2 separate regions of the Homo sapiens genome follow, and region 1 is linked to region 2. Evidence: promoter capture Hi-C in human tissues and cell types (Jung and others, 2019). All regions are on one chromosome and are shown on one strand. The core of a region is centred on a gene start or on the middle of the fragment in contact, and the rest is flanking DNA. Distances in the headings are between cores, read along the strand shown. Region 1 has its middle 120 kb from the start of SAMD12. Region 2 holds the start of MED30 (mediator complex subunit 30).

Region 1 (6,365 bases), core at 1,318-3,817, 1.2 Mb before region 2:
TCTATGGGCAATTTTTTCTGATCTGATTTTTTTCCCATGTAATGTCCAATTCCTTACATTTTTCATAGTTGATAGCCTTTTCACTATTTCTATGCACCCGTCTTCCAGCAACAAGCTTGAAGCTTGTTTCTGGTACATCATTAAACCATTTCTGGCTGTCTGCAAACATTTTTGTGTCTGGTTAACTTTGCCCACAACTTCAAACCAGAAACAAAATATAATTCAGATAAGAAAAATTACTATAGCTATCTTTGTTTATCTCCAATGCATTGTCTAAATACAGGAATATACAGTATCATGGGGGTTGAAAATATGAACTGTACCAGAATTAAGATTGAAGGATTCTGAACCATAAGAAACTTCCTCTGGAAATGAATGTGGTAGCTGAGTCCACATGTGTGGGAGGCCAATTGCATAGCTGGGAGTTGTCACAATTAACTTCCACAGAGAATTCAATGTTTATTAAATAAGTGATTTAAATGTGCTAATTTGAAGCACGCATATATATTATTGAAACACAGCTGCAATCACAGCAAATGTTTGCAAATTAGACCAGAAAAAGATCTTTTCATTAATGGTACTTAAGAATTTCTGAGCATGGTGACTATTTAAAAGCAGATTAAATTTTAGTCAATTTTATTGCGTATTTAAGTTATGTATGGGTAATGTACCCCCTCATTGTCTGCACCCCAAATGGACTGTTTCCACTGTCCAGACCTTGGCTGGAACACTGAGGACATATGTATCCGACCTCTACTCAAATATGGATGGATGATCATATAACTATCCAATTACTAGGATGGAAAATAAGCAAACCCTCAACCTTCAACAAACATAGAAAGGGCAATAGGAACAATAAGCTGCGAATGCCTTTATGGTTTTACATCACAGTTTTGCAGATAGCTCTGCAGATAGCAACTATCTGTAAATAGCTGCAGATAGTTATACAGTTTATGATAACCCATTGATCATAAACTGTGTAATGACACAGTATTTCCAAAGGAATTCTTTATAGTAAGAATAAGAATTTCCACCAGATAGAAAAGAGACATTGCACATACAATAGTGTCACACTTAAATCACTTATTTAATAAACATGGAATTATCTGCAGAAGTTAATTGTGACAACTCCCAGCTATGCAGTTGGCCTCCCACACATGTGGACTCAGCTACCACATTCATTTCCAGAGGAAGTTTCTTATGGTTCAGAACCCTTCAAGCCTGATTCCGGTGTAGTTCATAAGTGGCAATCATAAACTGTGTAATTCCACAATAGTCCTAGTTTCAATATTTTCCTGGGAAAAGAAACATTTTGAGAAATCCCTGACCTGTGTGGTCCATTTTCATGGTACTTGAGGCTTCTTTCTAACAATAGATTGTGGCCATTTTCCTTAAGCAAAGCTTTGTTTCCACAGCTTTGCCGGTCTCAAAAGACCAACTCAAATATAGAGAAAAAATATGTCTTTTGCTCAGGTACAGAAACCACATTGTAGGTCAATAAATAGGAATGTCCTCTTGATACCATTTAACCCTACACCTATCCCAAAGTCAGCACAACTTCAACTAAAAGCAGAGCAACCACGTAACTAGTGGGAAGGAGAGAGTAACCAAAACCATCAGGGTCATGGTGGAAGAAACTCAGAAACGCATGATGAGGTAGAAGTTGGGATGCCCGCAGTACATCAATGTCTCCTTTCCGTCTGGGGGAAATCCTTATTCCTACTATCAATAATTTCTTGGAAATACTGTGTTACCTCTATGGGAGAAAGAAGAGCTCTTCTAAGATTTCTAATTTCACCTTGGAGTTTCTTCTGTTTTTCCTCTACCACACTCAGCCACCCCAGAAGCAGTTAATCCTCCTGAAAATAAAATACTTTTGCAGTTAGTCGTTTCCAGTCTTATTTTCTCAGCCATTCTGCTTTCATGCCAGCTCCCTGACTATGATTATATTGATCCATGTATCAGTGAAACAAAGCCCAGCATAAGCTCAAGACCTTGGGTTGTCCACCTCATAGCTCATTTTGACAGACTTAGCTAGAGGTTTGGGTTTTTGTTTGTTTGTTTGTTTGTTTTTCCCTCTGTTTTGTTTCCTTTTTCAACTAAGAATATCTTCAAGTTTAGGGACAAATTTATAGACTTATGTAGTGAGTTCTCTGGAATTCATCTCCGTGCTAGTTACCCCTCCTGCCATGGCACAGAGCACATCAGACCCTTCCTCTGTGAAAAGGACAGATTCCTGGTGTTCTCAAGCTTAGCTGATTGCCACAGCGTGGTGTGGTGTGACTGCCATCTGCTGGCATGGGGCTGACATTACAGGATGGTAACCATGCACTCCCTGGTAAAATAATCAAGAAGTACTTGTTTGGAAAACAAAAGCTTTCTCTGGAGAAATGAAGAACAAGTTTTGTTATAAACCTTGTCCATCTTCAACACCAAAAAAAAAAAATTCTTTTACTCTGGAAAAGCTAAAGAAAAACAGAAAATTGGTTTATGGCAGACTTCCAAGTGTTCAACACAGTGAGGAAATGGGATTATCAGCTACTACCCTTATGACCACAGCAGAACCCAGTAGCATAAAATGAGAAACCAAACCTCACTGACTCCAGCAACAAGTTCCTACCTTGTGAAGCCACTTGTGTGTGGACACTAACACCAATGACAGGTTGAGGGATCTTCCTTAAGATACTGACAATGTCTGTAACATTTTTCTCTTTAAAAGATTGTGTTTTTTTGGAACCCAAGTGACCAAAACATAAGCACTGACATTTAGGGGATGAGAGACTTTTTTTCTCATTATAAAAGCCATGCCTCAATGTTTAAGGATCAGAATCATGCGTAAGAGATGTTTATATGAGCTCGCCTTTAAAATCAGAGCCAGGCACTTTTGCTCAGTCCTGACTTTCTTTCCAAGTCTTATCTTCAGGATGTGTGGACCTGCACAATTTGTGGCAATGGAAGCCAAGTTTCTATTGCTGACTTCAGTGGGCGTTGCTGCTTATTTCCATGTCAAAGAATGGGACCTTGTATAATTGTGAATAGACAACAAGGAAGAATTTCCCATAGAGAACACCCTGATAGCGGAATAAAACTAAACTTCTTGAAAGGGCTTTATTCATTGTAGAAGCAATAAAGTCAACACTGAAGGCACTGTCTGCTGTTAATCAACACAAATTTCTTCATTAAAGCCTATGGGAACTGAATCAAATTTCAAATTTTATAAAACCAAGGGTATATAATAACTATTATATTTCTGCACTTATACAAATGTAATTTTTCTTATCCCCAAATCCTGTTTCTCCCCCAAGCTTCCCCATCTTATAAATGGCCACACATCTGCTCAGTTGCTTGAACCCCAATTGTACAAAATCATCCTCGCAAGCTCTACGCTCTCACTCACCAAACCCAATCCGTCTCCATGTCTTGGCAGCCCTACCTCAAAATCCAAAACTATCTCCACCTCTCTTTATCTACAGGGGCCAGAGGAGTCCAAGAGTCCAGCCCACTTTCATTTTTCTTTATCATCTACAACCATAGCCTATTTAATGGTCCCAGCATCCACTTTTGCCTCTTCATCTTCAATTCTCAGCAGCACAGTTGGAATGATCTTTCTAAACTATAAACCTCCAGGGATGACCCAGAGAATAAAACCTGAACCCCATAGCATGGTTTACAAAGCCCTTCCATAATCTTGCCTCTACTTATTCTTCACTCTCTCAGCTTCCTCCCTTCCCACAACTCAATATACTGCAGGCACTCTGGCCTTCTCTCTGTTCTTCCAACTCTCCCAGGCTGCTCCCACTTAGGAGTTCAGATTTGCTTATTTCTCTGTATGGCACCATATTCTTGCACGTCCAGCTCCTTCTTTTCATTTCAGTGTCACAGAGAATATCACTGCCTCAGGCCAGTACACCTTCCTGAGCACCCTGTGAAAATCAGTCCTTTCCCTTCTGGATTTCATAACTCCATTTTACTTGCTTCATACCATTGATCCTATCAGCAATTATCTTGTTCCTTTTTTTTCACTTTTTTACTTATATTCTAGTATTGGAATGTAAAGCCATGAAAACAGAGACTTTGCTATCTCATTTAACATTGTATCACCAGTACTTAGATTAAATCTGGCTCATATTAAATACTTAATAAATACACGTAAAGGAAGGAATGTGTGTGCACATTATCCATCTAATTACATTTGCCTATAATTAAGGTTTTCTCTTATAAGGAAGAATAATTGGCACCTTTTTAGGAAGAATCTCAAATTGGATCATGTGTAAGAGCTTGAGCTCTGATATCAAGCACTATTGGTTGGTGTCTTAGGTGAGGATAACCAGTATCAGATACTGAGAAAGAATTTGTGTGCAAATTGTTCATTAAGAATGGGATCTCCAGGAAACTTATAAGGGACAAAAAGAAGGAAAATAAAGTAGGGAAGAAGCCAAGGATGGGCATGACCTCAAGCAAAAGGTTTGATGAGGAAAAATACAGTCCAATCCCAGTGGGGCATGCTGGAGTGGAAGTTACCCCTCAAAATCATCTCAATCTGAATCAAGCATGCTGGAGTTTCATAATCCAGCCCAGGCAGGCATTGGCTAAGAGCCATCAGGGTGGGTACATGCTCCCAGGCCCTGCTTGTGGGCAATGCAACTCTATTATACCCAGCCCCACCACTCTTCGGCACTCTGACTTGGGGTATGTGGAATAACGTTTCTAAGAATGAATTTATGAGTAATTTTCTCTTGGAAAATTTTGTGCATTAAATGAGATAATGCATATAAGAGAACTTTGAAAATAGCTATTATTTATGATCTGGTTTTTAAAAGCAATTTGAGGGTTAAAAACAACATCTAGGAAATTAGGTTCTTACTTAGGAATAGAAACTCTGGTATATTGTCCAGTCCTATATATACAAAATTGAAAATAGAAGTGGGGAATGTAGGGAGAAACACTGCATAGTAGACTTAGGAAAATAAAAAAGCAACATAGCATCAATACGATGCTCACTTTTGTGAATATACTTGTAAGTTTTCTACGGAGACCTCTTAGGGTCCTGGAATATTGGCAGAAAAGAAAGAAGTTTGGCTTTCTGAACACACAGGAGGTGAGAGGTCCAACAATTTTCAGTTCCTTTAGAATAAGAGAAGTGGGTTCTGCCACAGTGATAACAAATGGATGCAGTCATCTAAAATATTTATGTTTGCACCCAGAGAAACTATAAACAGTTATTGGCGTCAGTTTGGATTCGTCAGCATGTGTTGTCAAAAAATAACTTTGATCTTAGAGAGAAAAGCAGCTGGAGCATCTTCAATCCCAGATGTGATCAGAGCCTGTCTACTGGATAATTTAAGAGAATTCTGCAGTCTGAACCAGCTTCAGAGAAAAGTGAGTGAGATTTACTTGCCATTTTTTCTTCGATGATGGTGAGATCTATTTAATAAGCTTGGGTAAATGCTCAAGTAAATGGTAGAATTTGGATCTGGGAAAAATCAGGCAAAACCACCAACCCCCATGACTGCTAGAGAGACCAGCACACTGAAAGGCAGGGGCCTGAGTCACTCATGGGAGAGCGGAGCTGATACCTTGACACCAGCTCTTCACACAAGAGCACGCACACAAGTGGGGTCGGTGGGAGAGAGATCAGTTCTTTACAGAAGATGAGTGACTGCCAAAGATGCAAATGGTGGCTGCCTAAGATGCCAATATGGCCAGCCACACTCACTGTTTAATAGGGTTGTTGTTAACATGAAATAATGCATGTGAGGCATTTAATACACTGTTTGGCATATAGTAAAAGTCTAACAAATATTGTTATTTTTATTATTCCTATTTTACAGCTGTTGAAGAGTGAGGATTATGAAAGTTTTTTTTAATTCTCAGAGATCAGAAAGTTGATAAGTTGCAAAGCCAGAATTTAACCCCTAGAACTTTTTCACTCAAAAGGTCATGCTCTTACCCATCTTTCTGATGAAGTGGTTTTTAAGTGACCTGTATAAGTCAGATTTCTCCAGAGAAACAGAACCACTAGGAGATAAATCTTAGAGAGAGAGAGATGAAGATAGAGATAGGTGTATAGGTATGAAAGGCATAGCTGTAGATAGATTTATTTTAAGGGATAGGCTCACAAATTGTGGGGGGTGGCAAGTCCAAAATCCGTAGAGCAGGATGGCACCCCAGAAATTCCAGTAAAAGTTGATGGTGCAGCCTTAAGGCTGAAGACAGTCTGGAGGCAGAATTCTTTTCTCTTCGAGGGACCTCTGTCTTTGGTCTCAAGACCTTCAACTGACTGGCTGAGGGCCACTCACATTATAAGGGTAATCTGCTTTACTCAGAGTCTACTGACATCTAAAAATACCTTCACAGAAACATCT
Region 2 (6,790 bases), core at 1,403-3,902:
CCCCCTGGTGCCGACAAGAAAGCCGAGACTGGGGCTGGGTCAACAACCGAATTCCAGTTTAGAGGCGGATTTGGTCGTGGACATGGTCAGCCACCTCAGTAAAATTGGAGAGGATTATTTTGCATTGAATAAACTTACAGACAAAAAAAAAAAACTTAAAAAAAAAAAAGTTGGCTTTGAATGCAGGTCCACATGTAATCTAGTTATTGATAAAATACTTTTTTTGAAAAAGTTTAGTTCTGCGTAGAACATGAACCTGTATTATATCTTTTAATAATGTACATTGACAGCAAGTTAGTATTAAAAAGAGGTTAGTAGGAAGAGCTATTAGTCGTGTGTGATGTTGGGTAATTTATTTTTTCTCTCATTAAGCCTCAGTTTCCTTTACTGTAAAATAGGGATAAAAATACTCCTTAAAACTGCTCCTATAACAGGGTACCTGACCAAGGAAAGTACTTCGTAAGTGTTAGGTATTATTCGGTGCTTTGCATATAACAGGACAAAATTTTTTTTAAAGTATGCTAAATTCTGAGACATTATTTAATCCGTACTTTATTCATTCTAGATATGAATCTATTCATTTTTTTAAATTATTGCCAAAGAATGTCATAATTTCTCCTGGATCTCCTTTGTACTATATTTCACATGGTCTTAAAAATTTCCACGAAACTGAATTACTCTTATAATCAGGACGAAAAAAAAAGTCTTGACCAGTTAAAAAAAAAAAAAGCAATAAAACACTTTTTTGGACACCCACAGAAATAAGAGCTGTAAGATTTTTGAAAACTTGGTTTCAAATTTACCCTACCACTGACTAGGTTTGGGCAAGTCACTTTATCTCTCTGAAGTACAGAATCTTCATCTGTAAAACAAAAATAATATCTACTACATGTAGTGGGTAATATAAGCAAGCATTAAAAATGGGTCAGCAAAATGGTGCTGGAACAACTGGATATCCAAATGCAAAACAATGAACTTGGATCCGTATCTGCCACTATGTATACATATTTAAAAACTCACAAAACTAAATATAGGTTGTAGACCTAAATATAAAGCTTGAAAGTACAAAACTTCTAGAAGAAAACAGAAACCCTTTGTCACCTTGGGTTAGGCAAAGATTTCTTAGGTATGACAGCAAAACCAAAATCTATAAAAGAACAAATCAGTAAGCTGGATTCCATCAAAATTTAAAATGTCTGTTCTTCAAAAGACAGTATTAAGAGAATAAAAAGGCAGGATAGACTGGGAGAAGTATTTGGAAAGCATCAAGACATAACAGGTGTTGATGAGGATGAGGAGAAACTAGAACCCTCAAACAGCAATGTTTACATTCCCACTAGCAATAATCGGGACGTAAAATGGCTCAGGCCACTTTGGAAAAGTTTCTTAAAGTATTAAACAGACATGTACTGCATGATCCAGCAATTCCACTCCTGAATCTGTCCAAGAGAAATGACACATACGTTCACACAAAAATTTGTCAGCAAAAGTTCATAGCAGCATTATTTACAACAGCCAAAAAGTGGAAACAACCCAAATGTCCATCAACAGAAGAAAAGGTAGGCAAATGGTGATACATGGATACAATGGAACATTACTCAGCAATAAAAAGGAAATTATTGATGCATTCTTAGTGAAGGATCTCAGACAAAAAAAAAAGCCCACATACTGTAGACTCCGTTTATATAAAACCCTAGCAAATGCAAATTAATTTATGATTACAGAACGCAGATCAATGGTTGCTTAGCGATGGAAGGTGGGAAGCAAAGATGTCAGAGGGGTATGAAGAAACTTTCTGGGATGATGTGTACACTATTTTGATTGTGGTGATAATTTCACAAGTATACAGACTACAGTACACATATATATCAAAACTTTAGGTGAGTGTAGTTTACTGTATATTAACTATGCCAAAAAAAGGAGGACTGTTTTTTTAAAAAAAATGTAAATTCTTCAACTCCTTGGACCTCCCCAGAAGAAATGCTGGAAAAAACATTTAAAGCAACCTAAAGAGGGAAGTGGAGTGCGACCCATCTCTGCCTTGAAAGGTGCAAGAGTTTACAGAGTAACTAAAGAGCTCGATTGAATCTAAAAAAAATTGGCTTCAATTCTGCAGAAATCTGGTCTGGAAAACATCACCTCTACAAATCCGACTTTTGGGGACACTCTTGAGTGTGAATGGGGGAGACCCTACACCTAAGGTTTGCCCAGGGCAGCCCCGATGACATCCACGGGCCCCACGTAAAGAGGAAACCAGAGGCCCTTTCCCTCCCAGCTGCATCCCCCTGGCCTCGCGCGCCCGCCTTCCTACCTGCATGTTCCTCAGGAGCTGGAAGATCTCCATGGTGCGGTACACGATGTCCTGCACTGTCTCCTGCCCGATGCGGCACAGCGACGCCGTGTTGACTTCCCGGGCGGCCTGCTGAGCCTGGGGCCCGGCGAAGGGCCCGGGCGCCATCCCCGACGCGGCCAACGGAGGGGTGGACATGGCGCGGCTGCAGCTTCAGGCCGGAAGGGGCCAGACAGCAGGTGTCAGGGGTCTGCCCGGAATTGGGAGGCTGTGGGGCCTCAGCGTTGGAACCAGCTTGAGAGACCCCCCGCGGCCCGATTTCAAAACAGCGGCCGCGACTTCCGCCCACTGTGACGTAACACGTCAGAAAACGTCATAGACACCGCCCACTCGGCGAACTGTCTCCGAGCGGAGCCGGGCTGGATTGGATTGGACCCCTGGGCGGGAAAGGACGGACGGGTTAAGTAGCCAATCACCAATTGCGCTCCAGCCAGAGGGGCGATGTTCTTGGGGAGCCTGGGGTGAGTTCCCAGAGTTCGTTTCCCAGTCTTGGCTCAGCGTTAGAACCTTCTGTGTTTAGTTCCTTGCGGAGCATTTTCTCTTAACAAGCCTGAGGTTTGTAGTATAACAGCTAAGAGACAGGTTAAAGTACTTGTTGAGTCGCATACAGGTGTAACTGGCAACCTGCGATTCGAATTCAGAAAACAAGATTCCTAAGCTTGTACGCTTCTCTGTGACATGATACGGACTCCCCGATTGCTCTTGGTCCCTGCTCAGATGTTTTATTCTTTGAGTTTTCCCAGTATCTGTAAGCAAAAAAAATGATCAACACACACACTTCTTTCTGACTCTGGCTCTTATTAGTGTCTGATTTTTTTTTCTTTTTCTTTTTGAGATGGAGTCTCGCTCTGTCACCCAGGCTGGAGTGCAGTGGCGCGACCTCGGCTCACTGCAAGCTCCGCCTCCCGGGTTCACACCATTCTCCAGCCTCGGCCTCCCGAGTAGCTGGGACTACAGGCGCCCGCCACCACGCCCGACAAATTTTTTGTATTTTTAGTAGAGACGGGGTTTCACCGTGTTAGCCGGGATGGTCTCGATCTCCTGACCTCGTGATCCGCCCGCCTCGGCCTCCCAAAGTGCTGGGATTACAGGCATAAGCCACCGCGCCCGGCCTACTGTCTGATATTTTATATAGCTTTCAGTTTGTTTACTTTCAGACTTTATCTCACCCTATCTACACACACTGCCAACTCCATGAAAACAGACTATTTTATTCACTTATTCTCAACACCTAGTGATTGGCACAAGTATCAATAAATACTTATTGAATGATTGTTGAGTGACATGATAAATGCAAGAGAAATTAAAATGTCTCTCACAATGTCTCTCACTTACTGTTCATCTCCAAAGTGGGGAAAAGTGAAGAATGTAAAATTAGTGATAGGCACAAACATTGCATTTTTTAGAAGTATCTGAATGCTCCATTGTACGGACTTTCCAGGAAATAGTTACTAAATATGTCATAGGAACCCTGGTAGAGATTTTAAACATAGTAATTCGCAGGTCTTCGGTAATTACCATTCGACAAATATTGGCTGAGCACCTATTATGTGCTGGGTGCTAGGAGTGAAGATAGCGTACTGAACAAACCAGGCAAAAGCCCTGCAGCATGTTTGTCATGGGGACAAACAGAACACTATTGTGATGAGCGTCTTGAAGCAAAAGTTCCTGATATCAGGGTGCTAACAATTTAGGAGATTGAGAACGACCTGAAGGGAGCAGTGTGGAACCTGAAGGTGGATAGGGAAGGGAGTAACGAATGATAGAGTCTTTTCTATGAGGACGAGGAAGGCCAGTGCCAACACCTGAAGTGAAGAGGCCTCCTAATGCTTTCTAGGATCTGGAAGAAGTTCAGTGTGAGGACGAGTGTTAGGAAATAAGGCTGAAGACAGAGGCAACCCTGGAGGATCTTCTAACCCATGTCAAGCAGTTGAGAATTTATGGAGTGAAATAGCAAGCCATTGAAGAGTTTCAAGGTGAGAGGAATAATTTGAAATATTCATTTTAGAACACTTATTCTGGTTGCTAAATGGGGAACAGATGGTGGGTTTCTATTGTCTTCTCTCCCAAAGGGGAATGATGATGATGATCATGACCTGTGCAGAGAAAGGAGACAGAGGGTAACTTTGAATAAATATTTAGTAAGTAGAATCTAGAGAACTTGATAGTAACTGGATCAGGAACATTAAGGAGAGGAAAGAATTAAGGATGGCACGTATTTCTGCTTTCATGTGAAACTTCAGGTGAAGTTTATGTCATTTACCAAGACAGGATACACTGAAGAAAAAATAAGTTTCCGAGAAATTATGCCTTATGTTAATTTCCTATTGCACATGTAACAAATTACCACAAACTTTGTGGCTTAAAACAGCACACCTTTTATTATTTTATAGCTTTTTAGCTCAGAAGTCTGAAATTGTTCTCGCTGAACTACGCTCAAGGTGTTGGCGGGCTGTGTTCCCTTCTGGGGGCTCTCAGAAGGAATCTGTTTCCTTGTCTTTTCCAGATTTTAGAAGGCTGCCGCAATTGCTTGGCTCATGACCACTTCCACCAACTGCAAAAACCAGCTTTCATCCTTTTCAAAGCCAGAATTGGCTAGTTGAATATGCCATATCTCTGGTTCTGAGTCCTCTGCCTCTCTTTCATTTAAGTATCATTTTGATTACATCGGGTCCACCTAGATAATCCAGGATATCTTTTTATTTTAAGGTCAGCTGTTTTGCAGCTTCAGTTCCGTCTGCTACCTTAATCGCCCCTTGCCATGTAACATGACATACAGACTCTGGGAATTAGGATGTGGACATCTTCGGGGAGTAACTAAAATCTGCCTACCACATGCCGCCAATCCAAACTGTCCCTAAATTCAAACTCACATACCTAAAAACCTGACATCTTGACTTGGATGGCTATTTGGCATCTAAAACTTATGTCTAAGAAAACCCAACTCTTGATCCCTCCCAACCTTCTTTACCACACTTTTCCCATGTCATTGTCTGGCACCACCATGCATTTAGTTGCCCATCCTGGCTTCTCTCTTTCCCACCCTACTTCCAAGTCATCAGAAAATAGAATGAACTCTGACTTTCAAATATATCCTATATGTGACCAATTACTTCACCCCTTTCAACCTAGTCCAAGCTGTCTTCTCTTATTTAGAATGCTGGATAACAATCAAGAGTCTCCTAATTGAACTCCCTTCCTGCTACACTTGCCCCATCCAGTCCACACTCATTACAGCACCCACAGGCAAACTTACAAGCTAAGTCAGGTTATGATTCTCCCCTGCTCTCCTGTCCTCTCATCGTGCTTAGAATAAAATCCAAAGCTGCATGACCTGCACACCTCCACATGTGCTGGCCTAGGCTGTTCCTGCTCTCTCAGTTCCCACAGCTCTCCCCTCACTCCAGATACATACACCTCCTTACTATTCCTTGTGCACTCCAAGTTCATCTCACTTCAGACTCATTTATTTTGGCCTGGGAAGCTCTTCTCTCAGCTATCTCTCCAGGCTTTGTTTACAGTGGCCTTTTCTGGCCACCCTACTTAAAATAGCCTGCATCAGGCTGGGTGCTGTGGCTCACACCTGTAACCCCAGCACTTTGGGAGGCCGAGGCGGGTGGATCACGAGGTCAGGAGATCGAGACCATCCTGGCTAACATGGTGAAACCCTGTCTTTACTAAAAAATACAAAAAAATTAGCTGGGCATGGTGGCGGGCGCCTGTAGTCCCAGCTACTCGGGAGGCCGAGGCAGGAGAATGGCGTGAACCTGGGAGGTGGAGCATGCAGTGAGCCGAGATCGCACCACTGCACTCCAGCCTGGGCGACTGAGCAAGACTCTGTCTCAAAAAAAAAAAAAAAGAAAAAAAATAGCCTGCATTAGTCTTCTGTTGCTGCTGGAAAAAAATATCAGAATTTAGTGGCTTAAAGCAGCAGAAATTTATGTCCCCATTTTCTTACTGATTGTAAACTGACAGCCATTCCTAGCTTCTATGAGATGCCACATTCCTTGGCTTGTGGTCCCTTCCTCCATCTTCAAAGCCAGCTATGGCAGGCAAGTCTCTCTCATGCTTTAAATTTCTCCTGCATCTTATTCCATTGTCCTTGTCACATACCTCTAACCTTTCACTTTTGAGGGCCTATGTGATGATACTGGGTTCATCTACGTTATTCTAGATAAACTCCCCACCTCGAGACCCTTAACCTTAACCACGCCTGTAAAATTCCCTGTTTCATGTAATGCAACATAGTCATAGCTTCTAGGGATTAGAGGGTTTGCATCTTTGTGGGGCCATTATTCCACCTACAGTACAGCCCTCTCCATCTCTCTGTCCATTTAGCCTGCTTCATTTTTTGTAGTGTTTCTCTCAAACTGATGTTGTTTCTTTCACTGTTTGTCCCTTCAGCTAAACAGTAAATCTCATGAAATTAGAGATTGTTTC

What was found. Contacts are between HindIII fragments. The study calls those that stand out against the background at their distance.
Region 1: a fragment that was not itself captured here is called in contact with the fragment with the promoter of MED30 in region 2 in 1 of the 25 tissues and cell types used here (hippocampus).

What each region holds. Positions count from the first base shown.
Region 1 is chr8:118,739,721-118,746,085 of GRCh38, reverse strand. No RefSeq gene overlaps it. Among named protein-coding and RNA genes, the nearest start is that of SAMD12, 120 kb to the right of the region's middle. The HindIII fragment of the contact is 3,609 bases long and covers 763-4,371 here.
Region 2 is chr8:117,516,575-117,523,364 of GRCh38, reverse strand. MED30 (mediator complex subunit 30) reads right to left here and starts at 2,652. Exons shown (of 4, transcript NM_080651.4): 1 at 2,312-2,652. The coding sequence starts at 2,488. LOC105375716 (a long non-coding RNA gene) reads left to right here and starts at 2,645. Exons shown (of 7, transcript XR_928569.3): 1 at 2,645-2,811; 2 at 4,188-4,326. It also overlaps the pseudogene RPS10P16. The HindIII fragment of the contact is 5,716 bases long and covers 186-5,901 here.